Regions from separate parts of the Homo sapiens genome. Here all the other regions are linked to region 1. Evidence: promoter capture Hi-C in 16 types of primary human blood cells and fetal thymus (Javierre and others, 2016). All regions are on one chromosome and are shown on one strand. The core of a region is centred on a gene start or on the middle of the fragment in contact, and the rest is flanking DNA. Distances in the headings are between cores, read along the strand shown.

Region 1 (5,015 bases), core at 1,477-3,976:
CTAATCTTCAGCCACACCCAAAGAAGGTAATGTCCTTTCCCTTCCTGTTCTAAGCAGCTGAAGGGATACAACTTGGGCAGGCCTGGGCAGATGTGGAACACAAAATGAAGTATCATTTGGCTTGACAGAGTCTGACATAAACATTAAATATTGTAACTTGGGTTTCTGATTATTTAAGATGATGCTCTATTCTAAGGCAACTTCACATACATAATGAACAATTTTTCAAGTCAGGAAAGAAATGATTAACTTTGGCCAAATCACTCTGGATCCAGTAGATCTATCAATGGCACATCTCCTGTTTCAGGACAGCCAGCTGTTTCAACTTTTCCATCAGTGAATTGTGACTTCAGCAACCATATCTGATGCACAGATAGTCGCCTGGGGGCACACAACATGCCCATCTGTGCTGATGGCAGGGAGCCCATCAATAGGGAAGTCACACACTGTCCTCAGATAGAACCACCTCTTCCCTACAGCATGCCTTCTTCGCATGCATTTGACCAACCCTCTACTTCATCTGCAATGGGGCTGAATTAAGCATGGTATCACAGGTTTCGGAAAAGGCAACCTAGAGTATATTTCAGTCCATTCAGCATGAAAAATGAGTTTAACTGAGGGGAAGTTAATTTCCTCAAGGTACCACTCAAGTACTTAAATTCAGTAAGATTCTTTAAGTTCTTGACATAAACACATTGATTTTTTTAAGAAATATTGACCCACGGAAAATGATTACAGCAATTCTCAAGTACCAGGACTATCACACTGCTTCAAGGGACCAGGTGCCCAGTGAGGTAGCTTCACCCAAACACATGCCCAATGGGAATGGTTCTCTGCTGGGGTGAGGGAAGGGGTCCAAAAGTAACGTAGAGTAGACTGACTTCTTAAACCTTAAAACTAGAAGAGGAAATGTATAGACAAAGTGTTCTCTTAGATGGGGCAAAAGTGACTTAATTTTGGACTATGTAAAAAGAAAAGGCTTTGGCCGAGGATGCCTTGAAAGGTTTCTCGTTGATGTTTGTTTGTAATCATTCTTTGGAATAAACAGCACGGGGCAAGGGGGCTTCTGAGCTTTGTGTGCAGGTTTCGATGGGCCTCTGCTGCACTTCCCTCAGGCTGCTCACCGGGATATCGATTTTTTAATTAGTGTTGTGCTGGTTATCATTTTGACTTGGCTTCTCTTCCACAGCCATTAGAAAACAACAGCAAACCAGAAGAGGACGAGATAATCCACCTAAGCAGGACTACTTGAAAAGAAGCAAGTGTGGAAACTATGAAGCCTTGTAATAGATTTTTTTTTTTTTGATGAACTGCCGATCTCTTCAAAATAGAGTCCTTGCTTTCGTGCCCCGCAAAGAAAAGTACACCACGCCAAAGCCCAAGGGAGGTGGCTAAGGTTATACAGGGAGGGAGGGGAGTGTAGCTGGACTGGGGAGTTGGAATAGCAGAAAAGTCACAAGTCAAAGAGGCGGCCCCTTCCACACATTCCCAAAGTGCCAAAGGGAAAACAGCAACAAACTCGAAACTCGCGAGGGCGTCTTCCCGTGCGAAGCGTCCCCTGGATCCCCGAAAAGCCCCGATCCCCTCGCGCTTGGGAAGGGGTGGGGTCCTCTTCAGGAGGTGTTTACTTGGCGTCCGGGGCGCGGAGACCCTCGGGGCCGGCGCCCGGCACAGGTCCGGGGCGGCGTGGTTGCCGCCCGCGCCCGAGTCTCCCTGGCTCTTGACAGCCCGCCGGCCGCCAGGTGCTCGCCCTACCTGGCGCCCCCGCCTGCCTTTGTGCGGCCCGCGCCGCCCCTCGCCAAGGCGGGCCAGGGACCGCCCCCGCCCGCGTGCCGCTGCCAGGCGGGACAGCTGCGGGCGCTGCCGGGCAGCGGAGCGGCGGCGGGGAGGAGAGGGAGTCGGCGCGAGGGTGCCCGGGGCGGGGCGGGCACGGCCGCGGGGAGGGCAGGGGACGCCGCCAGCGGCTGCGGCGCGAGTCTCCGAGCACCTCCCCTGCCGGCTGCGCCCCCCACGTCCCAGCAGGAGGAGGGGACCCCCTCCCGCGCCGTGCCCCTCGCAGCCGATGCGCCCACACCCTGGCTTCCGACAGCTGGCAGCCATAGCAACCCGGCCACAGAAAGTTTCGCGACGCAGAAACCGACTTGGAATAAAGTTTTCCTTGGCCCCTCGCTCGCTCTCCCCCGGCCCGGGTTTACGGAAAGCGGCAGGAAATCAGAGCTCGCGACGTGCCGGCTCCCGCGTCCACCTTCTCCACCCCTGGCCCCGGCAGCGCGCCCAAGGTGGGTGCACCACGCCGGGGTTTCCTGCCCCGTCCCCGGGTCCGGCGTCCTAGGACGCGGCGCGGCCAACTCACCATGGTGACTCGCGCCGCGGTCGCGTCTTCGCCGGGTCCCGCTGCCGGGGAACTGGGGCTGGAACGCAGTCTTCTGGGCGAACTTCAAAAGTTGGTTCCCCTCGCCAAAAACAGGCTCCCGACACCCAAGCACTCACAGGAGCCAATGGGAACCCAGAGGGGACTCCATCCAGGCGGGATTGGCGGTGCTAGGTGAGGGCGAGACGGCGGCGACTTAGCAGGCGGGGCGCATGCTGCGGAGGGCAAGAGTCCACTCGTACTCGCCGGTCGCCGCCGGCCCAGGTGAGTCCGATGCGCTCGGAGCGTCCGCCTCGCTCCCCTGCCTCACTCCTCTTTCTTCGGCCACTTAATCCGTACTCCTCTGGCTGAGTCTCGGCTCGGGCCGGGCAATCTGTCCATAAATGGAGAACTCAGCTCAGGCCTGACCAATCAGGGTTTGTTTTCGTAGCGTCACTCCTCAGGGAAACCGTAGTAGCCAACAAGCTTGGAGCTGCTGGAGTTTCCAAAGATCTCTGGATCCTGTAGTCCTCCTCCCGCGCCAGCCACCGAAGAACGCTGCGGACCCAGCTCGCTCCTGGTAGCAAGACCCGAACTGTAAGGAACAAAACCCTCGTGAAAGAGGAGCAAACCTTTCACTTCGCTGCGTTTTAAGACGAAAGTTAGGGTGGGTTTCGCTTCCAAGTTGAAGGGGCATGATTTTCCCAGAACTTTTTTTTAAGAAGGAAATATTTTATCAGCATAAAACATCAGAGTCGTGGCAGCAGCCCAAAGGAAATCCTTTTTCTTTCCTACGTCTGGATTGTGAGCAAAGTCAAAAATATCATTTCCCCACCCCTCCTTTTACCTGAATTTCCTTGGAAAACAAAGGAAGACTTCCGGCTGCTTTTTCTTTTCTTTTTTCTGTTTTTCTTTTCTTTCTCTTTCCTTTCTTTCTTGTTTCTTTTTTGCACGTTTTGATGGCAGAAAAGTTGTTGCACGTGCAGTGGGCAGAGGGAAGGAGAGAGGAGAGATAGGTGGGAAGAAACCCCATCCAACCTCAGCCAACACATCTGCTGAAAACAATCAGAACTGTAAAAATGCATTATTCCAGACTGTCGAATATCCAAGGAGAAGATTGGGGTGGGGCGGGGTGGGGGGAAGCAGAATCTTAAAATCAAGGTAGGGAGTTTGATTTTATTGTTCTGGAGGCTGAGGAAGTAAATTTGGTGAGTCTTAACAGGCTGCCTTCCTGGAATCTGTAGAAGATAAAATTGGTAAACTTCAGGGCATAGAGAAACTATGAAGCATAATGATATTATGATACTTTCTGAAATTTGGTTGAGGCAGGGCGCTGTGGCTCACGCCTACAATCCCAGCACTTTGGGAGGCTGAGGTTGGTGGATCACGTGAGGTCAGGAGTTTGAGACCAGCCTGGCCACCAACACGGTGAAACCCCTTCTCTACTAAAAATACAAAAATTAGCCCGGCATGGTTATACATGCCTGTAATCTCAGCTACTCGGGAGGCTGAGGCACGAGAATCGTTTAAACAGGGGAGGCGGAGGTCGCAGGGAGCCGGGATCGTTCCACTCTACTCCAGCCTGGGCGACAGAGCAAGATTCTGTCAAAAAAAAAAAGAAGGAAAGAAAGAAAGAGAGAGAGAGAGAAGAAAGGAAGAAAGGAAAAAGAAATTTGGTTGTAGCTCTTCACTTGACTATCTGAGCATAGAGTTAGAAAGGGTATTAAACTTTATCTTGTCTAAAAGGGTAAACAAAATGTTACAACATGGATGAATCTCGAAAATATCGTGTTAAGCCAGGAGCAAAAGACCACATATTATATAATTCCATTTAAATGAAAGTTGAGGATAGGGAAATCTATAGAGATAAAAAGTAGGTTAGTGGTTTGCTAGGGGCTGGGGGAGAGGGGAGATGGAAGTAATTGCTAACAGGTATGCATTTTCCTATTGAAGTGATGAAAATATTCTGGAATTAGTGGTGATGATTGTACAAGTTTATGAATATACTAAAAACCACTGTGTTATGCTTTTTAAATGGGTGAGTCTTATGGTACGTTCATTATATCTCACTTTTAAAAGTTGAAAGAAAATCATATTGTCCAAATTCTTGTAGTAATCATTTACATAGTTTGGCAACAATATAATCGAATGTGTGTTATAAGACAGCACAGCTAAACACTGGAGCTACAACTGGTCCCTGCCCTCACTGAGCTTACAATTTTAGGATGGGGAAAACAAACGATAAATTTTTAGAAAGAATAAATACAGGAAAGAAGCAAGCATAATGAAATGCGACAGTAGTTTTGTGCAAGGAACTGCCATATTTGGAGCTATAGTTTAGGGCAGGAAATTCATCTGACATAGTTATGTAGTATGAATTGGAAAGAAAACAGCATGCCATCTGTACTAGGCATTGCCTAGGTACACACAGACATGATAAAGTCTCAGATAAGTCTGACTCCATATCTCATAGGGAAATATCAGCTTCAGAATATTATTAGGTCAGCCAAGCTCAGTGGCTCATGCCTACAGTGCTAGCGCTTTAGGAGGCCAAGATGGTAGGATTGCCTGAAGCCAGGCATTCAAGACCAGCCTGGGCATCATAGCAAGACTCTGTCTCTATCAACAAATTATAATAATAAAAATTAGCTGGGCATTATAGTGC
Region 2 (5,015 bases), core at 1,719-4,218, 120 kb before region 1:
AGGCTGAGGCAGGCAGATCACTTGAGGTCAGGGGTTCAAGACCAGCCTGGCCAACAGGGCGAAACCCCTTCTATACTAAAAAATACAAACAAAAAATTAGCCAGGTGTCATGGCACACCCCTGTAATCCCAGCTACTCAGAAGGCTGAGGCAAGAGAATCACTTGAACCCAGGAAGCACAGGTTGTGGTGAGCCAAGAGTGTGCCACTGCACTCCAGCTTGGGTGACAGAATGAGACTCCGTCTCAAAAAAAAAAAAAAAAAAAAAAAAAAAGATAAATTAGTGAACACAAGGCATGGTAGATAAAATTAGCATCTATAGGCCGGGTGCGGTGGCTCATAACTGTAATCCTAGCATTTTGGGCGGCCAAGGCAGGTGGATCACTTGAGGTCTGGAGCTCATAACCAGCCTGGCCAACATGGTGAAACCCTGTCTCTACTAAAAATACAAAAAAATTAGCCAGGCAAGGTGGTGGGCGCCTGTAGTCCCAGCTACTTGGGATGCTGAGGCAGGAGAATCGCTTGAACCCGGGGGGATGGAGGTTGCAGTGAGCCGAGATCACACCACTGAACTCCAGCCTGAACGACAGGGTGAGACTCCATCTCAAAAAAAAAAAAAAAAAAAAAAAAGTTAGCATCCATAGAAGCCACTCTTCCTGATTTGTCTGCCAGTGGGCTGAGGAGGAAGGCATAGGAAATATCCAAGGTCAACCCCAGGTGTTTATTCCTTACTAGAAGTTGGCCTAATAGACATCAGGGCTTGGCAGGAGAGAGTGTAGGTTAATGAAAGGGGGTTGACTTACAGCAGAGTCAGGACAGGAAAGTAAACAGCAGAGATGGGGGGTTTTCTCCAAGTAAAAAGACTGTTCTGCAGACTAGAGCAACACCCTTAGTTCATGTGTTCACATCTTCAGATAGAGGTGACTGCTGTGAGCTGATTTAGCAAATACGATCATCCCTTCGCTCAGAATTCACCCCTCTATCCAGCGTTCTCGTGGTAATCTAGCTCCCTTCGTGGACTGTGTTCCAGGGCACATAATCGGCTGTCCACAGGCAGAATTCTGCCTATGCAATAATGAATTGGGGTCTGATTCACACTTCCTTGTGAGTTTGCTTGGCAAGTCAGTCTACCCAAGGCTGCTCAACTCCAGCTGTTTTGACAAATCAAGTTTGTAGATGGACCTAGGCTTCCATGGAGCCCTGTGCTTGAGAAAGCAGCACGTCTCCTTCCTTGATTTATTTCTTTCAAAATCCACTTTGTGGCCAGGCGCGGTGGCTCACGCCTGTAATCCCAGCACTTTGGGAGGCTGAGGCGGGTGGATCACGAGATCAAGAGATCAAGACCACCCTGGCCAACATGGTGAAACCCAGTCTCTACTAAAAATACAAAAAAAATTAGCTGGGTGTGGTGGCAGGTGCCTGTAGTCCCAGCTACTCAGAAGGCTGAGGCAAGAAAATCACTTGTACCTGGGAGGCAGAGGTTGCAGTGAGCTGAGATCACGCCATTGCACTCCAGCCTGGTGACAGAGCAAGACTCTGTCTCAAAAAAAAAAAAAAAATCCGATTTGTTACACTCATTTCTAGTCTTGAAATGGTCAGGTGCCTGTCCATCCTGTCACCGTATCCACTGCGTTGGAAAATATGAGTAAGACTGACAGGAAACTAGAAACGCCGCCTTTATGGGCTGCATTATGCCATCTAAAGTGTCATTTAGACAAAGTCACACCAGGGAAACTGGGAGGTGGAAGTCTAAAACACCACCATAGAAATTAGGTCATCGCTCACTTTTTATTTCCTAATTAAATGACACTAAAGATTCCTAGTCTTTCCAGCCATGCCAGAATCCCTTAGCATGAGGAGCAGGCTTCTCTTCCAGCCTCCAAGAAAATGGTTTTTTCGTTTGTTTTCTGCTCACAAACACATTTTAAAAGGCACCATTCAACTCGGCCCCTAACAGATGGAGCACCTGCCCCATCCAGTGTCAGGGGCTACAAACTTGGCCTTTCCACCCAGAACAGGATTTCCCTGCCTTTCCTCCTCTCCAACATTATTTGGAAGGAAGAGTTCCAAAACCAGTTCCTTCACAGGTGAAAAAGCCAAGGCCCAGACAGGTGTGAGGCGTGCTGCCCAGGGTCAGGTGAGCATGAACCACGGCATGCCAGAGGTTTCCAATTTGCTTTCTCAAAGCAGACAAACCACAGCCCTGGTGCAGAAGAGAATTAACTCAAGGGCTCAGGCTTTTGCCCTCGGTGACTGGGCGGTGATGTCTATGCCCCTGGAATGTCCTACCTAAGAGGAGTGCTTTTCCTTTCTTGGGGGCTTTGACCATAGGAGAGTCTGACGATATGATTTATGTCGGGGGCTTTGGGACATACCATCGCAATTCTGACCTCCAACTGGAAACTAAAGGCATTTGCACAAGCCTTCGAGAGCAGCTGGAAACTGAAGGTGGGCCAGGCAGGCGGTGCGTGATCGAGGCCAAACATCAGAGGCTCAGGTGATGTTTTCTGGTCGGCAATACTGTGAGTATTGTCACACCTCATACCGGTAGGAGGTAGCGCTGTCCATGACTCCACAGGGAGAGGAAAACCAGAAACTCCACCTCGGGACCCTCCCAGACCTCGCCCTCAACCTCTTTTGTTTGGCTTTAATTTGTATCCTCCTTTTGCCAGAACGAAACTGTAATCCTAAGTGTAGGGCTTTTCTGAGTTTTGTGAGTTGTTCTAGTGAACTACTGAACCTGGCGGGGGCGGGGGGTAGTGGGAACCCCTGAATTGATGAGGGTGGCCTGGGGAGCCCTGAACATGCAGCTGATGTCTGCAGGGTGGGCAGTCTACCGAGGAGGCCTGTGTCCTTAACCTGGAGTTTGGCCCAACTCCAGGTAGCTCCTAAATTAAAGCACATCTCCTAAATGAAAACACAGCCACTGCAACAGAAATCCTTGGGAGCAGGTCCTTGAAATCTCTGCCACCTGAACAGCTGGAAACAAGGATCTGAAGTGGGCATCATCCCGCTTCAGTGCAGGTGGACCTTGCAGTGCAGGTGGAGGGAGACACGTGGGCTGCAGAAGACTGAGGGGGCCTCCAGACTAGCAAGCTCATGTAAGAAGACCATTCCCATCCCACTCGTTTTGGCACACACCCAGAAGAGGGAAAATGTGAGGAAAGAGAAAGGGCAGAGGACTCTATCAGAAAACTCATCCTGGACCCTCATTAAATTCCAGCTAGGAAAATACCTCCTGCCTCTCTAGTAGTCGGTGACCTCCGCTTAGTATCAAACAGAAGCATTTCCTATTAAGCAACCAAATTCAACATGACCCAGGTGTTCCTCCTCATAAAATTTAACTTGCACCTGCATCTGATCAAGTCATTAGATATAACCTTAAACTTGTAGAAAATCCAACTGAAGGAATAAGTATAGTGAGACCAGGAAGAAGCAATTAGACAAATGTAAATGATGTCTGTAGGAAAACTAGTTTTGGTCTCTTCAAAAAGTCAGTGTCATGAAAAAAAACAGCAGTAATAGGGCAATTGTGGTAGGATAAAAATAAATTTATGATTCATAACCAAATGCAGTCAGCGTTACTTGATTTGCATAAACCAGCAGAAAAGGACGTTTGCGACTATTAGAGAAGTTTGAAGTTTTTAGATGATGTTGAAAATGTACTATTAATTACTGAGTTATGATAATGGTCTTCGGATCAGTAAGAAAATGTTTCAATTTCTCAGAGATGCATGTGGAAATATTTAGGGGTAAAATGTCATGAAGTCTATATTTACCTCCAAATACTTCAGATATGTATTTACCTTGAAATGCTTCAGTGCTCATGTTTTGCAGTACTGACTTGGGAACCATGTAAATGTTTTGCATAATTATAAAAACAAAATTACATTTAAAAATGCAAAACAACTGAAATTGTAAATGAAATAAATGAACCCAACTGTAGGTCAGGTTGACATAGAAAAGGATTATTTTAAGTGACTTTTATGAAACCCAGTATTTTGACTGCAAATATTGGATATTTGGACAAAAACCAGAAAAGAAATTTTAAAATGAATTCAGTATTGCTACTAATAATATTGGTATTGTTACTTTAACAGCATTAACAAACTTATTCTATCTGTCTAAAACGCATACAATGCAATGCAAATAATTGCTAATGTAATCAGGAACTAAGATTGTTCAGCATAAGATAAATGGGATACAAAAATTAAAATCAAAGAAATAAAAACTCTGAAATCTTAAAAATTAATTGAAAACAGTTAATTTTTCAACTTCATTTTTCTCTTAAAAAGCTCATATTCCCTAGCTTTGTACTTTTAAAGAACTATAGGCACTGAAAACACAGGGCAGTGAGCACTCTTGGTGTCTAGTTTAGTGGTCTCTTAATGCCATTTCCCATTAAAATGAACCAAGGCCTAGCGGGGTGCGGTGCCTCGTGCCTGTAATCCCAGCACTTTCGGAAGCTGAGGTAGGCAGATAACTTGAGGTCAGGAGTTCAAGACCAGCCTGGCTAACATGGTGAAACCCTGTCTACTAAAAATGCAAAAGAGGCTGGGTGCAGTGGCTCATGCCTGTAATCCTAGCAATTTGGGAGGCTAAGACAGGCGGATTACCTGAGGTCAGGAGTTTGAGACCAGCCTGGCCAACATGGGGAAACCCCGTCTCTACTGAAAATACAAAAATTAGCCAGATGTGGTGGCGTGTGCCTGTAATCCCAGCTACTCGGGAGGCTGAGGCAGGAGAACTGCTTGAACCCAGGAGGCGGAGGTTGCAATGAGCCAAGATCGTGCCACTGCACTCCAGCCTGGGCGACAGAGTGAGACTCTGTCTCAAAAAAAAAAAAAAGCGAAAGAATTAGCCAGGCATGGTGGTGCATGCCTTAACCCCAGCCACTCAGGAGGCTGAGGCAGGAGAATCGCTTGAACCCAGGAGGCGGAGGTTGCGGTGAGCTGAGATCACACCACTGCACTCCAGCCTGGATGACAGAATGAGACTTGGTCTCAAAAGAAAAGGA
Region 3 (5,015 bases), core at 1,142-3,641, 110 kb before region 1:
CAACCCTAAATTGGCAGCCTCTTCTAACTTAGATTCTCTGATGCTTTGCATACTCGAAAACCTAATTCCCTTAGGTGGATTTTTAAAGTATCTTTTCTAATTGGTAAGGACCTAATCAAAATTGAATGAACGAGCAGGTTGTGGTGGCTCAAGCCTGTAGTCCTAGCACTTCGGGAGAATAAGGTGGGTGGACCCCTTGAGCTCAGGAGTTCGAAACCAGCCTGGGCAATCTAGTGAGACCTCATCTCTACAAAAAATTTTTTTAAAATTAGCCAAGCATGTTGGTTGGTACGTGCCTGTAGTTCCTGCTGAGGTGGGAGGATTGCTTAAGCCAAGCAGGTCGAGGTTGCAGTGAGCCATGATCATGCCACTGCACTCCAGCCTGGGCAACAGAGCCAGACCCTGGCTCCCAAAAAAGAAAACAAACAAACAATTAATGAATGAAGTAATAATGATTCTTATGGTAAACCCAATTTTAAAGAAACACAGCACTGCTAGAACCATCTTCACTTCAGAAGAGGAAGATGTTTATTTCATGTCTACATCTATCCCCAGGGAAAAACAAACAGGCAAATAAGCTCCTTCCATGGAGGAGGGTACTTGTTCCCTTAGTTGTAAAGGGAATGTGGTTACTGCCGCCTTGTCCTAGACAAATTGATCACTGCACACAAAGAATAAAGGGCTGCCCTCAGGACAACAGACAAAGGTACCACCTCCCCACCAATCCCTTGGTTACTCAATAAATATGAATTCAGTTGCATATGAGCTCCTAAAGTGACCAACATTTTAAAAACTGTTAATTTGCTATATAAAGAGATATCTCATTAAGTCTTGATTTTTCACCAAGTAGATTACATAAATTCTGATTAGGGCCTGGTTAAGGAGATATTCAGGAAAAAAAACAAAAACAAAAATTTATTTTGGACTATTCTAGGCCAATCGTGAATCAATGACTCAGGTCAGAATGAAATGAAGAGGGAAATTTGTACCTGCTCCCTAAATTTATCAGTAGGGTTCTTGGGGATAATACTATTTGGGAAGACACCTAAAAAATAAAGTTTGGTTTAAAATGGCTGTTTCTGGTTGGGTGCTATAATCACAACACTGTGGGAGGACAAGTGGGATGATTGCTTGAGTCCAGGAGTTCGAGACCAGCCTGGGCAATATACTGAGACCCCATCTCCTTAAAAAAAAAAAAAAAAAAAAAAAAAATTGCCAGGCATGGTGGTCTTCACATGTAGTCCCAGCTACTTGGGAGGCTGAGGTGGGAGGATCACTTAGGCCTGGGAAGGCAAGGCTGCAGCGAACTGTGATCACACCATTGCTCTCCAGCTTAGGTGACAGAGCAAATAAAATAAAATAAAAAATTTAAAAAAAAGTCTCAAAAAATAAAATGGCTGTTTCTACAGAAAAACTAAGGAGAATTTAATTGATTTAAAGAAAATAAACATATCGTAGTTATTTCCGGTGAGAGTTTGGAATAATTGTTTATCTAAACAATTCTCACCTTTTCCACCTTGCTATGTCTGCAGAGACCTTAGCTATTTTCCGGACACCTGTGCTCTCCTGCTGCTTTGGGAACTCCAGGTAATTCCAACAATGCTCACTCCCACTCCTGTTGCATAATTCAGGTGTGCCTCTGGGAAAAGCCGTTCGGATCATTGTCTTTACCCACATAATCCTTGGTGGTGAAGGTGTGGCCTAAGGTTAATTTTCAAACTGCATAAAGATATGAAGCTATGATACCAAAAAACAGAAGGAAAAAAATGCCAATTATTTAAAAGACTCTGGGAGACAGAAGAAACCCAAGATATCTTTAACTGATGGGTTCCCAAATGCCTGCCCGTGGATCTATCAGTTTTCATTGACCTGCAGCAAGAATGACAAAAAAACAAACAATGCACTGAATTTTTCATAAAGCTTAATTTATTCAAAATAAAGAAACTGTCCTTTATTCTTAGATTATGTCCTTCCTACGTTTTTGGTGTAAAAATATTTTCTTTTATGAAATGTGATGGCAGTACAACTTTCAAATTTTGTTTTTTGTTTTGCTGTTCTTTTTTTTTTTTTTTTTGAGACGGAGTCTCAGTCTGTCACCCGGATGGAGTGCAGTGGTGTGATATTGGCTCATTGCAAGCTCCGCCTCCCAGGTTCACACCATTCTCCTGCCTCAGCCTGCGGAGTAGCTGGGACTACAGGCACCCGCCACCACGCCCGGCTAATTTTTTACATTTTTAGTAGAGACGGAGTTTCACCTTGTTAGCCAGGATGATCTCGATCTCCTGACCTTGTGATCCGCCCGCCTTGGCCTCCCAAAGTGCTAGGATTACAGGCGTGAGCCACCGTGCCCAGCCTCAAATGTTTGTTTTTAATAGTCTTATTAGGCAATGCTAAGAGTTGAACTTTTAAAATCTTTTTTTTTTTTTTTTTTTTTTTTTGAGGTGGAGTCTTGCTCTGTCACCAGGCCGGAGTGCAGTGGTGCAATCTCGGCTCACTGCAACCTCCGCCTCCCGGGTTCAAGCAATTCTCCTGCCTCAGCCTCCCGAGTAGCCGGGACTACAGGCATGCGCCACTACGCCCGGCTAATTTTTGTATTTATAGTAGAGACGGGGTTTTCACCATGTTGGCCAAGATGGTCTCAATCTCCTGACCTCATGATCCACCTGCCTCAGCCTCCCAAAGTGCTGGGATTACAGGCATGAGCCACTGTGCCCAGCCGGTTAAAATCTATTTGAATAGTCAGTGAATTTCCCAAAACCACCTACGCTGGTCGAGTGGACTTCCTTGGGTTCATCCCTGAGGTGGCACAGGGAGGTGAGTTGACTTCCCCAGAGTCACGTGGAGAGTGGGTGGCCTGGAACTCGAAGCTTTGGCTCCAGCCCGGCATCTGTCTTGCTATATAGCATGCTGCCCCTCCAGTGAACTGGATGCCAAGGGCCAGACCTCACTCGGAACAACTACGCTGCTTTGAAATCTAGTGGGTCTGGCACGAAAATCTGGACTCCTAATTCAAGGATTAAAAATGCCAAACACACCTGAGTGTGGTCTTTGAGTAAAAACAAGTTTGGAGAAAGTTGGACCGAATGAGCACAGAGTGCTTTGCGCAGGAACTCTTTTCGTCGGCCAAGTGGTCAGAAGTGCTCTCTCCCTATGCACAATAGACAACACTGTAATGTTTTCCTCATAGATCTTACAATGTAATTGTAAAAAGTGTGGCAACATTGATGACAAACAGATGGCAAATTAAACCTTGTCATAGGACAAATAACTCAAAAATAGGGAGTTTTATTGGTAAACGATGTCAGCATTTTCTAAGTGGATTTTTTTTTCCTAATGTAGAAGAAATGTGCATTCAGCCTGAATGCATTAACAATCGATCGCCCCAAATGCTGACTTTCAACACAAGACAATGTGCAGGAATTAGATATAGAAGGGATAAAGTGAGCAATTTTATAACTCAATGTGAAATCAAGTCTCTTCTCGTCTTAACAATTAAACATAGGAGAGGAAAAAACCCAACTCTTACTTACAGTAATGCCATTCTATTATAATATTCCCTTAACATTGAAGTGTTAAAGGATGCTTTTACCACTTAGCAGAGGAAGACTTGCAGCAGAGCCCCTGTATTATTTCACAAACATCCATCAAGCTCCCTCAAAGCTGAAAGCTACTCTGTGCTAATGATAGAAAGCACATTTATGCTGGGCTTCCCATATATTCAGTGGGTAGAGATTTCTAAAACATAAAGTCATTAGTGGTCAAGTAACTCATTTCCTTGGTAGAACACACGATTAGTCAGTCATCGATTCAAAGGCATTAATTCAAAGGCGCATAAACAGCCCTCTCTGTGTGAGTCATTTAAAAATTCTGTTGTCTGAATTTAAAAAGCAAGTCTTAACAGTCAACAAATTGTCAATGAATACTTAATACAATGCACCATGCCAAAAATTATGCAGAAAACCAAGAAATACATGAGGCAGGATGATGCCATTTTTGTTAAAATTAACAAGAAAGCACACATATATGCATGGCCATATGTGGTTAAACTGAAAGCTCTACACCAAGAGATTAATAAGAACTAACCTTTGGTGATGGGTTCTGGGTGACTTTGGTATTTTTTTTTTTTTTTTTTTTTGCTTCACTGCATGGTATGAGCCATGTTAAATGAACCTACATTGCTCTAAAGGGTTTTTATATGCTGCTTTTTGAAGAAGATATATAAGACATAGTCCCTGCTTCTGGTGTTTTGGGAGTAAACAATCGTGATTGGGAGGAGTGAGGCCGCCTGGAGTTATGAAGGACTGACTACGGACATCATTTGTTTGTTTTTATACTCAGCTTACCAAAAAACCGTATTTCCATCTTTATAATGCAGTAAGTCCAGCCCACATTCCAAGAACATTTCAAAATATAATTTGTACAACTACTACATTCAGCGGAAATGAAGACTTCTATGGGCTTGTCAATACTCCATTTATAACGGTTTCTGTGGCAAAATGCATTTTAATTTCCAATAAACAAGTTTACAGTGGAATTTTTGGAAAATAACTCGGAAATATGGGAAGCACTTACACACCTGCATGGTAATAATGACTCATACTTACTGTTTACTTGCTGCATTCTTTATTTGGTTTCACCCTACAACAGCCTTATGTGGGAGATTTTATTATTACTCCCATTTTACAGGTACGGAAAGCAAGGCACAGAGGTCACAAAACGTTTCGGTCACCAAATCTATGCAGAGCAAGGTTTGAAGCCAGACAGTCCAGATCCACATCCTGCCACCCAGCTCCTTCTAATCAATTAACTGCCAGTTTTCATGTGCTGTGGGTGCTGCACGTAAAAGTGATTAACATTTTTTGACGGTGTTAAGTCCGGATAAAGTAAGCATATTTCAGTATTTTGACCAAATAAAATAAAAACCTGCAACTGAACATAACTGTTTTTGTACAATTCAATTAAATGAAGCTGCTGGGCGCAGTGGCTCACGCCTGTAATCCCAGCACTTTGGGAGG
Region 4 (5,015 bases), core at 1,614-4,113, 100 kb after region 1:
CAATGGGTCTGTGTTGCTTTGGTGCCTTATGGTATCCATTCCAGATTTCTTTTGGTCACAGCAATTTGATTTCTTTTTGGATTTACCTTTCTTTCATTGAATACAAACTGGGATGGCTAATAATCAGGTTGCCTTATCCCCTTTTTAGCTAAAGGGGGTTGGGGCCCATAACTCAGGCTAGAGCACTGAGACCCTCCCTTTCTGGAATTTAAAACCTGAGCAGGCTGGGCTGGGCGCGGTGGCTCATACCTGTAATCCCAGTGCTTTGGGAGGCCGAGGTGGGAGGAATCGTTGAACCTCGGAGGTTGCTGCAGTGAGCCGTAGTCATGCCGGGGTACTCCAGCATGGGTAACAGAGGGAGATGCTACATTCAAAACTAAAACCAAACCAAACCAAACCAAAACATAACGAAAACCTGAGCAGGCTAATTCAAAGACTGGAAATGGCCATAGTACCTTCCTTGCAGCCACTTTGCCTGCGGGATACTGGCTAGTAGTTCCTGCTGCTTGGACCTCAGGAAATACTCTTTGTGTCTTCTTCTCAACCTGCATAACCCAGCTTCCCTGTTGATTATGTGTTCCTTTCCCCATTCCTTTTTTTTTTTTTTAAATGTTTTCTGGAGACGGGGTCTGGCTGTGCAGTGGTATGATCATAGCTCACTGTAGCCTCTAACTCCTGGGTTCAGGTGATCCTCCCACCTCAGCCTCCTGAGGAGCTGAGACTACAGGCACAGGCCACCATGCCCAGCTAATTATTTTATTTTTTGTAGAGACGGGAGTCTTGGTATGTTGTCCAATCATTTCCATTAACCCCCTTAAGTTAGTCAGGTCCAATTACCTGCAACTAAAGAAGTGCAATGACCTCAGAGGAACGTAGAAAGTTTACAAAATTGCTGTAAATAATATACTTGTCTTTGGATGCTGGTATCTATATTAAGAATGATCTTTTCAGTTTTATTTTTGGGTGCTGAGTCAGTTTTATCCCAGACGCTAAAAACTAAGCAACCCTAAGTTGACAACTGTACAAAATTGAAGAACCCCAACTCGAACATTTCAATTTTGAAAGGGATTTCAGATTTATCAAGAGACTGATAGCTCTGCTGCACCTAAATCTAACGACAGGTAAAATCCAAGTGATGGGGATCAATAAGAATTCTCAGGTTCCCATCCCCTCAACCACTGGCAAAGAAGTACAGTAGGCCCCTTTATCTGTGGCTTCACTCTCCGCAATTTCAGTTATCTGTGGCCAACCATGATCTGGAAATATTAAATGGAAAAATCCATAAATAAGCAATTGATAAGTTTTAAATTGTGTGCCATTCTGAGTAGCATGATGAAATCTTTCACCACCCGGCCTGGGTGGGACGTGAATCACTACTTTGTCCACACTGTATATGCTACCTGCCCGTTAGTCACTTAGTAGATGTCTTGATTATCAGATCAAAAAAACATAGTATATGTAGGGTTTGGTACTATCTGCAGTGTCAGGCATCCACAGGAAGTCTTGGAACGTGTCCCCTGCAGATAAGAGGGTGCCAGGGTATGTTACAAAAAATACAAACTTTTCCCATGTTTCACATTAGAAAATACTGTTACTTCCCCATTCTTAGAATACCCAGCACTTTCCTGTGGGAACTCAGCTCTGTTCCCTTTGCTTACGGGGGTGGGGGAAGACTAGAGATGGGAGTCAGTCTATTCTGACATTACCGTCCCCTCCAGGTAAAAGCACAGTATAACTCTACCCTTAAGAAATCCTGGTCTTAATTTTTTCTGTCAACGTAAGAGGTGATAGTGTTTTAGCTGCAACTGTCGGATCCAGGGAATAATTTCCTATTTGGTAGCTGCCACGTACTACTCCAGTGGCCAGAACCACTTTATTTTATTTTATTTTTTTAGAGACAAGGTCTTGCTATGTTGCCCAGGCTGGTCTTGAACTCCTGGGCCCAAGCAGTCCTCTCACCTTGGCCTCCCAAAGTGTTGGGATTACAGGCATAAGCTACAGTGCCCAGCCAGAACCATTTTAAATACATAATTTCCAACTTCAGCTGGGCCACTGATGCTATTTAACAGTTCCTTCATTTTAGGAAGCCCTCCTTGCCAGTTCCTCTCATGCCCCCAGTTTCCTTTCCCTCAGTGTATCCTGGACACTGAACTCGTGCCACTCTTACTATAGCATTTATTGAATAGGACTAACATTGTTACTTTACAAGCCTCTCAAAAAGAGAGGAACCTTGTCTTCCTCATCTTTGCATTGTCTAGTACAATATTTGGAGCAAAATGCGGTGAATGCTGTCATAGTATATTTGTGTTGCTATAACAAAATACCTGAGATTGGGTAATTTATAAAGAACAGAAATTTATTTCTCACAGTTCTGGAGGCTGGGAAGTCCAAGCCCAAGGCACTGGCATTTGGCATCTGGTGAGGGTCTTCTTGCTGCATGCTTACATGGCAGAAGGTGGAAGGGCAAGAATGATGAATCCTGTGTCCTCACATTGCAAAAGGATTGAACAGAGTGGACCTCCTCCCATAAACCCTTTTTATAAGGGCCCCAGTCCATTCAGGGTGGAGCCCTCATGACTTAATCACCTCCTGAAATACCACGCCTCTTAATACCACCACAATGGGGATTAAGTTCAACATAATTTTTGGAGGGGGTGCCATCATTCAAACCTCAGCAAATACTTATTAAGTGAATAAATGCCCAATACAGAGTGAAGCCAGTTGTAGATATGCTGGTAGCAAAAAGGACTAGAAGAGACTATGAGGTTATCAATGCAAAGAACATCCTTTTCAGATAGGCTGAGTGAAGTGGCCTGAGGTATCAAGGCCAGTTAGTGGCAGTGCTGAGAATAAACCCATGTGGCAAAACTCCAAAAATATGCTCTTTTCTCTTTTCTACTTTACCTCTTAGAAGCTCTTCTAGAACCTGATCTTCTATAATCGACTCTCAAATGTGACAGGCTGTGCTATTCAGCCATTCTTTGCTTTCTGAGTTTCAGGAAGAACTTGTTTATGAAACTAGATAATTCTAGCTTTAGTTCTCACTGAGTTCTCCCCTGACCCATCCTTGCTTTGATGAGAGATCACTTGAATTGCTTCAATAATCAGCTGTATCAAAAAATCTGCCTAAGGAATCTGAAGTCATCAATTGTTTAGGCTTTTGATAATTATTTTTTCCAAAACCTTTTTTTTTTTTGAGACAAGGTCTCACTCCCTCACCCAGGCTGGAGTGCAGTCGTGTGATCTCAGCTCACTGCAACCTCCGCCTCCCAGGTTCAAGTGATTCTCATGCCTCAGCCTCCCAAGTAGCTGGAATTTCAGGCACACCACCACACCCGGCTGATTTTTGTATTTTTGTAGAGACAGGGTTTCACCATGTTGGCCAGGCTGGTCTTGAGCTCCTGTCCTCAAGTGACCAACCAGTTATGTATGGCCTCCCAAAGTGCTGGAATTATAGGCATGAGCCACCATGCCTGGCCTAAACATGTTTCTTTAAGATGATTTTTGAAAAATTTACAATGCAGTGAGAAAGTAATTTCAATTTTGCTGTTTTCCCAACGTCCGAAACACATTTTATGTAATGGTTATTCTTGCCTTAACCAGACAGCACTCTTTTATATTTACATGTATTTTTGGAGTGTGCAATTTTGCAAGTGATGATTTCCGTGATAGACAGGGAAAACTGAGTAAAATCTAAATTTGGCAAAAAATTTAGTTTGTATTTGAGTGTTTACTTTTTTTGTAACTGGTAGTAACTATATATAATGACAAAGTAACAACAAGGAAGTTTAAAAATTTAAGACTCCAATGTGAAACACTAATTATATTGATTTATATGTATTATGAACTTAAGCATGTCTACCTAAACATGTTAGGATGCTTGATGACAGATCAGAATTGCTGTCTTATAGCCAAACTTCATTAAAATGAAATCATGATTGTCTTAGTTTAGGCTGCTATGACAAATTACCATAGACTGGGTAGCTTAAACAACAGAAATTTCTTTTTCATGATTCTGGAGACTGGGAAGTCCAAGATCAAAATGCTGGTAGATCCAGTGTCTGGTGAGACCCTGCTGCCTGAATTGTAGATGGTCGTCTTTTCGTATCCTTGCATGGCAGAAAGTAGAGAGCAGAAGCAAGACCTTCTTTTAAGGTACTAATCCCATTCGTGAAGATTCTACCCTCATGACCTAATCACCTCTTATAGGCCCCACCTCCTAATACCATCACATCAAGGGTTAGGAGTTTAACCTACAATTTTTTTTTTTTTTTTAGACTGGGTCTTGCTCTGTCATTCAGGCTGGAATGCAGTGGTATGATCATGGCTCACTGCAGCCTCAACCTCCTGGGCTCAAGTAATCCTCCTGCCTTGGTCTTCCGAAGTGCTGGGATTACAGGCATGAGCCACCACGCTTGGTGAACATATGAATTTTTGGAGGACACAAACATTCAGTCCGTAACAATGATGTAGAGTAAATTTAAAAAGTACTAAAAGGAAGTCTTCATTTATAAGTAATATAAAAATTGGCACCAGGCACGGTGGCTCACGCCTGTAATCCCATCACTTTGGGTGTGGGATCCACAAGGTGGGTGGATCACTTGAGGTCAGGAGTTCGAGACCAGCCTGGCCAACATGATGAAACCCCATCTCTCCTAAAAATATATATAAAAATTAGCTGGGCCTGATGGCATGTGCCTGTAATCCCAGCTACTTGGGAGGCTGAGGAAGGAGAATTGTTTGAACCTGGGAGGTGGAGGTTGCAGTGAGCCAGGATCATGCCACTGCACTCCAGCCTGGCTGACAGAGCAAGACTCCATCTCTAAATAAATAAATAAATTGGGAGAGTGGGCATAATATAAAACTGATACTTGGCCGGGCGTGGTGGCTCACACCTGTAATCCCAGCACTTTGGGAGACCAAGGTGGGCAGATCATGAGATCAGGAGTTCAAGACCAGCCTGGCCAACATGGTGAAACCCCATCTCTACTAAAAATACAAAAATTAGCTGGGTG
Region 5 (5,015 bases), core at 1,640-4,139, 83 kb after region 1:
AGTACAGTGGCATGATCTCAGGTCACTGCAGCTTCCAACTTACCAGGCTCAGGTGGTCCTCCTACCTTAGCCTCCTAAGTAGCTGGGACTGCAGGCATACACCAACATGCCTGGCTAATTTTTGTATTTTTTGTAGAGATAGGATTTTGCTGTGTTGCCCAGGCTGGTCTTGAACTCCTGGGCTCAAGTGATCCTCCTGCCTCGGCCTCCCAAAGTGCTGGGATCATAGGCATGAGCCACCGCTCCTGGCTGAAAGTTTTATTTTAAAAAATAGATATGTATTCTATCAGATGTTCATAAAGGGACATTAGCCAGGGAAGGGAAAGGAACCAACCCTTACTGGAAGCTTATCCAGTGTGCTAAGGCCAGACACTGTTCTGGATATTCCATAGCCTCCTGTGGCTAATGCCTGGTGATGCAGAGGCTGAGGTTCTAGGTCCAAATCTCTGCTCTACTGCTTCTTGGCCATGTGATGTTGGGCCAGTTGCTGAACATTTCTAAGTCTCTGTTTCCTCTGGTTCAATGTTGATAATAAGAGTATAATACTTTACAAATGATTGTGAGGATGAATTAAACTAATGCACATAAATGTGCTTCATGAGTACCGGCCCTTCTCAAGTAAGCAGTTACTCGTTACGTTACGTGTGAGCAGCTGTTAGTTATGTGACCCCCAACTCAACCAACTAAGGTGGGCCCGCTGAGATCATACAGCTAGTGGGGAAGCCAGGATTGAAGCAAGAGCCTTTCTTATCCTACCACCATGTTTTCTATGAGAGAAAAATATGTTGGACTGTAGCTGTGCAAAGGGAGAGTGAGAGAAAGAGGGATGAGAGAGACAGTAGAAGAAGGAAAACAGGCAGTAAAAATGGGAAGTTAAGAGAAAGGGCAAAGGAAAATGAAGAGGACTCAATGGTGGGGAAAGCAAAAAAAAAAAATTTGGAAGAGAGGAGGCAGGGAGAAGGTAAGGGAGAAGAGCTGGAAGAGGGTAGGGAGGGAGGCAAGAGGAGAGAGAGGAATGAGAAGTGCTAGGTGAATCTCGATACCTCTCCTGCTACTCCAGCCAGATCCCATCTCTGGGCTGCCTGAATTCCCAGTCTAGTCACCAGGGCCTTGGGCCTGCATGCACCACTGTGACTCCCCATCTCCTCTGACTCCTGCCTGCCTGGGAGGCCCTTGCCTTCTGCCATCCCACAACTTCCTATCACTCCTCAGGGCCTGGGGATCAAGTCCAAAGGCCTGAGGGTGCTGTTGGAGGTGAGTTAGAGAACAACATCCAGCTGTCTTTCCAGACAAACCTTCCACTGTTCCTGCCCTCTATCCTTTCACTCTGTTTTTAGCTATAAGGAAATAGGGTTTTTTGTTTTACCATCATATTACAACCACTTTATTCATAAATGCTTTGCCTATTTTTTATTCTGATGGTTGGGCATAATGTATCAATCCTATATTTTAATAGTGAAATGAAAAATTAACTGTTTTTACATGATTGGTATTCAACTCTTTAGTAAAAATTATCATTTTAATTTATTAAATTCATTTACCATTTTACATTAAAATGGTATGGCAGGTTTTTCTACTCAGTGTCACATCACTTATAAAACTATAATAATTGGTTGGCATTAATGTCTTCTTTTTCATTAAAATTTTAAAATATTCATCTCTATGTATATCTACTTCCTTTTTTGTTTCTCCCTTCACAGAATCCTCATAATCACAAATAATCATTTTGATTTAGATAATAGCATTTCACTTTACTCTTCTGTGAACTTCTGAATTCTATTTATATATTGCATATTTTGGGCATTTGGATTATTTTTCTTTTTTCTTTTTTTGAGACAGGGTCTTACTCTGTCACCCAGGCTAGAGTGCAGTGGTGCAGTCATGGCTCACTGCAGCCTTGACCTCCCAGGCTCAGGTGATTTTCCCACCTTAGCCTCCCGGGTAGCTGGGACTACAGATGCATGCCACCATGCCCAGCTAATTTTTTTTATTTTTTTTTACTTTTTGTAGAGACGGGGTTTTGCTTTGTTGCCCAGGCTGGTCTCAAACTCCTAGGCTCAAGAAATCCTCCCACCTTAGCCTCCCAGGTAGGACTACAGGTGTGTGCCTCCACACCTGGCTAATTTTTTTTTGTTTGTATTTTTTGTAGAGATGGGGTTTTGCCATGTTGCCCAGGCTGGTCCCAAACTCCTGGGCTCACCTTAGCCTCCCAGGTTGCTGAGACTACAGGTGTGTGCCACCACACCTGGCTAACTTTTTTTTTTTTTTTTGTAGAGATGGCATTTCACCATATTGCCCAGGCTGGTCTCAAACTCCTGAGCTCAAGCCATCCACTTACCTCAACCTCCCAAAGTGCTGAGATTACAGGCCACAGTGCCTGGCCCCAGAGTTTATTTTTTCTTACTTCTTTCCATTCTTTTCTTCTTGCTTTACCTACCTGTCCCTTCCCCCAACTTCCCCCAATTTTAAAACTTTATAAAGTGGAGATTGTTTAATATATTGTTTAATATAGTGGAATCACTGCACAATCAAAACAGCATGAAACCCAGACCTGTGTGATAAGGTTGTAGACAGACCTGTGGTATCAGTGATCAGATTTATAAACGTACAGGAGATGATAACCTCAGGCAGGTAAGCCAGAATTAACAACGGGAAGATCTGGAAACAATGCTTGAGATGTTATTTAATCCTGTGACTTATTCATTATCAATCTTTATTCATCTGCAATATAGATTCCACGTTCTGGCAAAGAATCGTGATGCTAACAAACCAAGCGACCTGCCAGATATGCAGATCCTCACCACATTCATAAAGGGCACCCATTCTGAATAATGTGTCTTGTGAGCTCATGCCTTATGAAATTTCTTGTCATAGAGCTGCATAGCGCTTAGGAGGGTTTGCTTCTGAAAAGCCATCTCCGATAATCAGTGGTGTGGCTTGACTTTTGTGGCTCTGTTCAGGTAGATGAAATGGCCTTCAGAGAAGGGGATGCCAAAGTCCCCATTCTTTCAGATACTTATTGAGTGTCTAATATTTGGGATTCAGTCTTGGTAAATAATTATACTTTTTAACTAAAGTATATTGTCTTATATCTTTATTGCTGCAGTTTCTGATCTGGAAGTGCTGGGCATTCACTCATTCATTAACAAACATATATGGATACTTCTAGGTCAGCCCTGTGTTTATTAAGATTTGAAACATGCCTGTAAGGAGCGTGTCATTTAGTAGGGGAGCTAGACTATTAAACAACTAAAAAGAATAGAGCACAATAAATAGTATACAAACAGATAAAGAGCTGGAGAAATGCAAGAGAGAGAGCCACTTTATAGACTGGAGGGGCTAGTGGGGCTTTAAAGAGTGCATGAATTTTCTAGGCTGGCAGGGGTGGGAAGGGCATTTCCCATAGAGCGCACGCACAGAGGTGTGATGGCAGGAGTGTGCAGGACATATCCAAGGACGGTGGTGGATGGGGTGGCGGGGGCGGGGGTTCCCGGTGACTGGAGCAGGTGATTGTGGTAGGGAGTGGCCAAATATGAGGGCGGAAGAACAGGTTAGGCAGGCCAGAGCATGTTCAGAAGAAAGGAAGTAGAGGTTGGAGTGTTGAAGAGAAGCTGTGGAACAATCTCTCCATCCCCTATTTTGGGAAAGCCTACTCATTCTCATCAGTTCTTCCTGACCTAGCTGCTACCCAGGAAAAATCGACCCCTCTCCTGTTTTCCCTCCCCATGTGCTTTTTTTCACAGGGTTAGCCACTTAACCCATTGTTTTTGTTTGTTTGTATTTGAGACAGAGTCTCCTCTATTGCCCAGGCTGGAGTGCAGTGGCGCTATCATGGCTCACTGTAGCCTCAGCCTCCCTGGGCTCAGGTGATCCTCCTGAGTAGCCTCCAGAGTAGCTTGGACTACAGGTGTGCATCAATACGCCTGGCTAATTTTTGTATTTTTTGTAGAGATGGGATTTCGCCATGTTGCCCAGCTGGCCTCGAAATTCTGGGCTTGAACTCCTGGGCTCAAGCAATCCTCCAACTTTGGCCTCCCAAAGTGCTGGGATTACAGGCATGAGCCACAACCCATTGTTTTCTGGTTGGTTTAGATGACTTCTGCTGAGGGAAGGGATTTTAGTTTTTCCTAGTTAGGTTACTTAATTACCTAATAGATGCCAAATACATGTTTCTTAAGTTAGGCTATTCTGTAGATTAATATCTCAACTGAGATGTCTTACAACTTTAAAACTGTAAAGATTCTATGATTCTAAATAACAGCATTTCCCACACTGGCCTGATTTTATTTACGGTAGTCCCCCCTTATCGATGGTTTCACTTTCCACATTATCCAAGGTCAACCATGGTCAAAAATATTAAATAAAAAATTCTAGAAATAAACAATTCATAAGTTTTAAATTGTGTGTTGTTCTGAAATAGTGTGATGAAATCTTGTGCGATCCTGCTCCCTCCTGCCCAGAACGGGAATCATCCTCTTGTCCAGCATATCCACACCATGTATACCTGGCCCTGTGAGTCACTTAATAGCCATCTCTGTTATCAGATTGACTGTTGGGGTATTGCAGTGCTTGTGACCAAGTAACCCTTATTTTACTTCATAATAGCCCCAAAGTGCAAGAGCACTGTGCCTAATTTATGAATTAAACTTAATCATGAGTATGTATGTGTAGAAAAGAATAGTATATATAGGCTTCGGTTTCAGGCATCCACTGGGGGTCTTGGAATGTACCCCTGACAGATGAGGGAGGGCTACTGTAGTCTATATGGCAGAAATGCTTCTCTTTGACACTGAAGAACTCTTTGGGCACCATAGCTTGTTTGGCATGAATGACTTTTTTTTCCTTAAATGTAATTTGTTTAAAGTTCTTTGTCTAAGAAAATGAAATGTGCACATTTTGAAACTCCAAAAATAAAACACTAGAGAGATGACGCCAAAACAGTGATTTCAATCAGAAATGCTTTCTGAATCCAGCATCTAAATGAGAATTAATTATGGAATCAGATCATAGTTAGT

What was found. The method cuts DNA at HindIII sites, captures the fragments that hold promoters and counts their contacts. A CHiCAGO score of 5 or more calls a contact.
Region 2: a fragment that was not itself captured here is called in contact with the fragment with the promoter of MYO1E in region 1 in 5 of 17 cell types (total B cells, M2 macrophages, naive B cells and 2 more); the score reaches 10.4 in total B cells.
Region 3: a contact is called between a fragment that was not itself captured here and the fragment with the promoter of MYO1E in region 1, in 5 of 17 cell types (M2 macrophages, M1 macrophages, endothelial precursors and 2 more). The highest score is 7.6, in M2 macrophages.
Region 4: a contact is called between a fragment that was not itself captured here and the fragment with the promoter of MYO1E in region 1, in 5 of 17 cell types (total B cells, naive B cells, M2 macrophages and 2 more). The highest score is 10.0, in total B cells.
Region 5: a fragment that was not itself captured here is called in contact with the fragment with the promoter of MYO1E in region 1 in 1 of 17 cell types (total B cells); the score reaches 5.6 in total B cells.

What each region holds. Positions count from the first base shown.
Region 1 is chr15:59,370,145-59,375,159 of GRCh38, forward strand. It overlaps MYO1E (myosin IE), which reads right to left and starts at 2,727. Exons shown (of 28, transcript NM_004998.4): 1 at 2,354-2,727. The coding sequence starts at 2,356. RefSeq lists a silencer at 1,672-1,991 and enhancers at 2,007-2,510, 2,511-3,015. The HindIII fragment of the contact is 5,897 bases long and covers 1-2,834 here.
Region 2 is chr15:59,247,883-59,252,897 of GRCh38, forward strand. The region is part of intron 4 of MYO1E (myosin IE); the gene reads right to left. Among named protein-coding and RNA genes, the nearest start is that of LDHAL6B, 44 kb to the left of the region's middle. The HindIII fragment of the contact is 9,944 bases long and covers 1-5,015 here.
Region 3 is chr15:59,264,607-59,269,621 of GRCh38, forward strand. All of the region lies in intron 2 of MYO1E (myosin IE), which reads right to left. Among named protein-coding and RNA genes, the nearest start is that of LDHAL6B, 60 kb to the left of the region's middle. The HindIII fragment of the contact is 947 bases long and covers 1,919-2,865 here.
Region 4 is chr15:59,471,967-59,476,981 of GRCh38, forward strand. All of the region lies in intron 3 of FAM81A (family with sequence similarity 81 member A), which reads left to right. Among named protein-coding and RNA genes, the nearest start is that of FAM81A, 36 kb to the left of the region's middle. The HindIII fragment of the contact is 6,137 bases long and covers 1-5,015 here.
Region 5 is chr15:59,452,812-59,457,826 of GRCh38, forward strand. The region is part of intron 1 of FAM81A (family with sequence similarity 81 member A); the gene reads left to right. Among named protein-coding and RNA genes, the nearest start is that of FAM81A, 17 kb to the left of the region's middle. The HindIII fragment of the contact is 5,091 bases long and covers 345-5,015 here.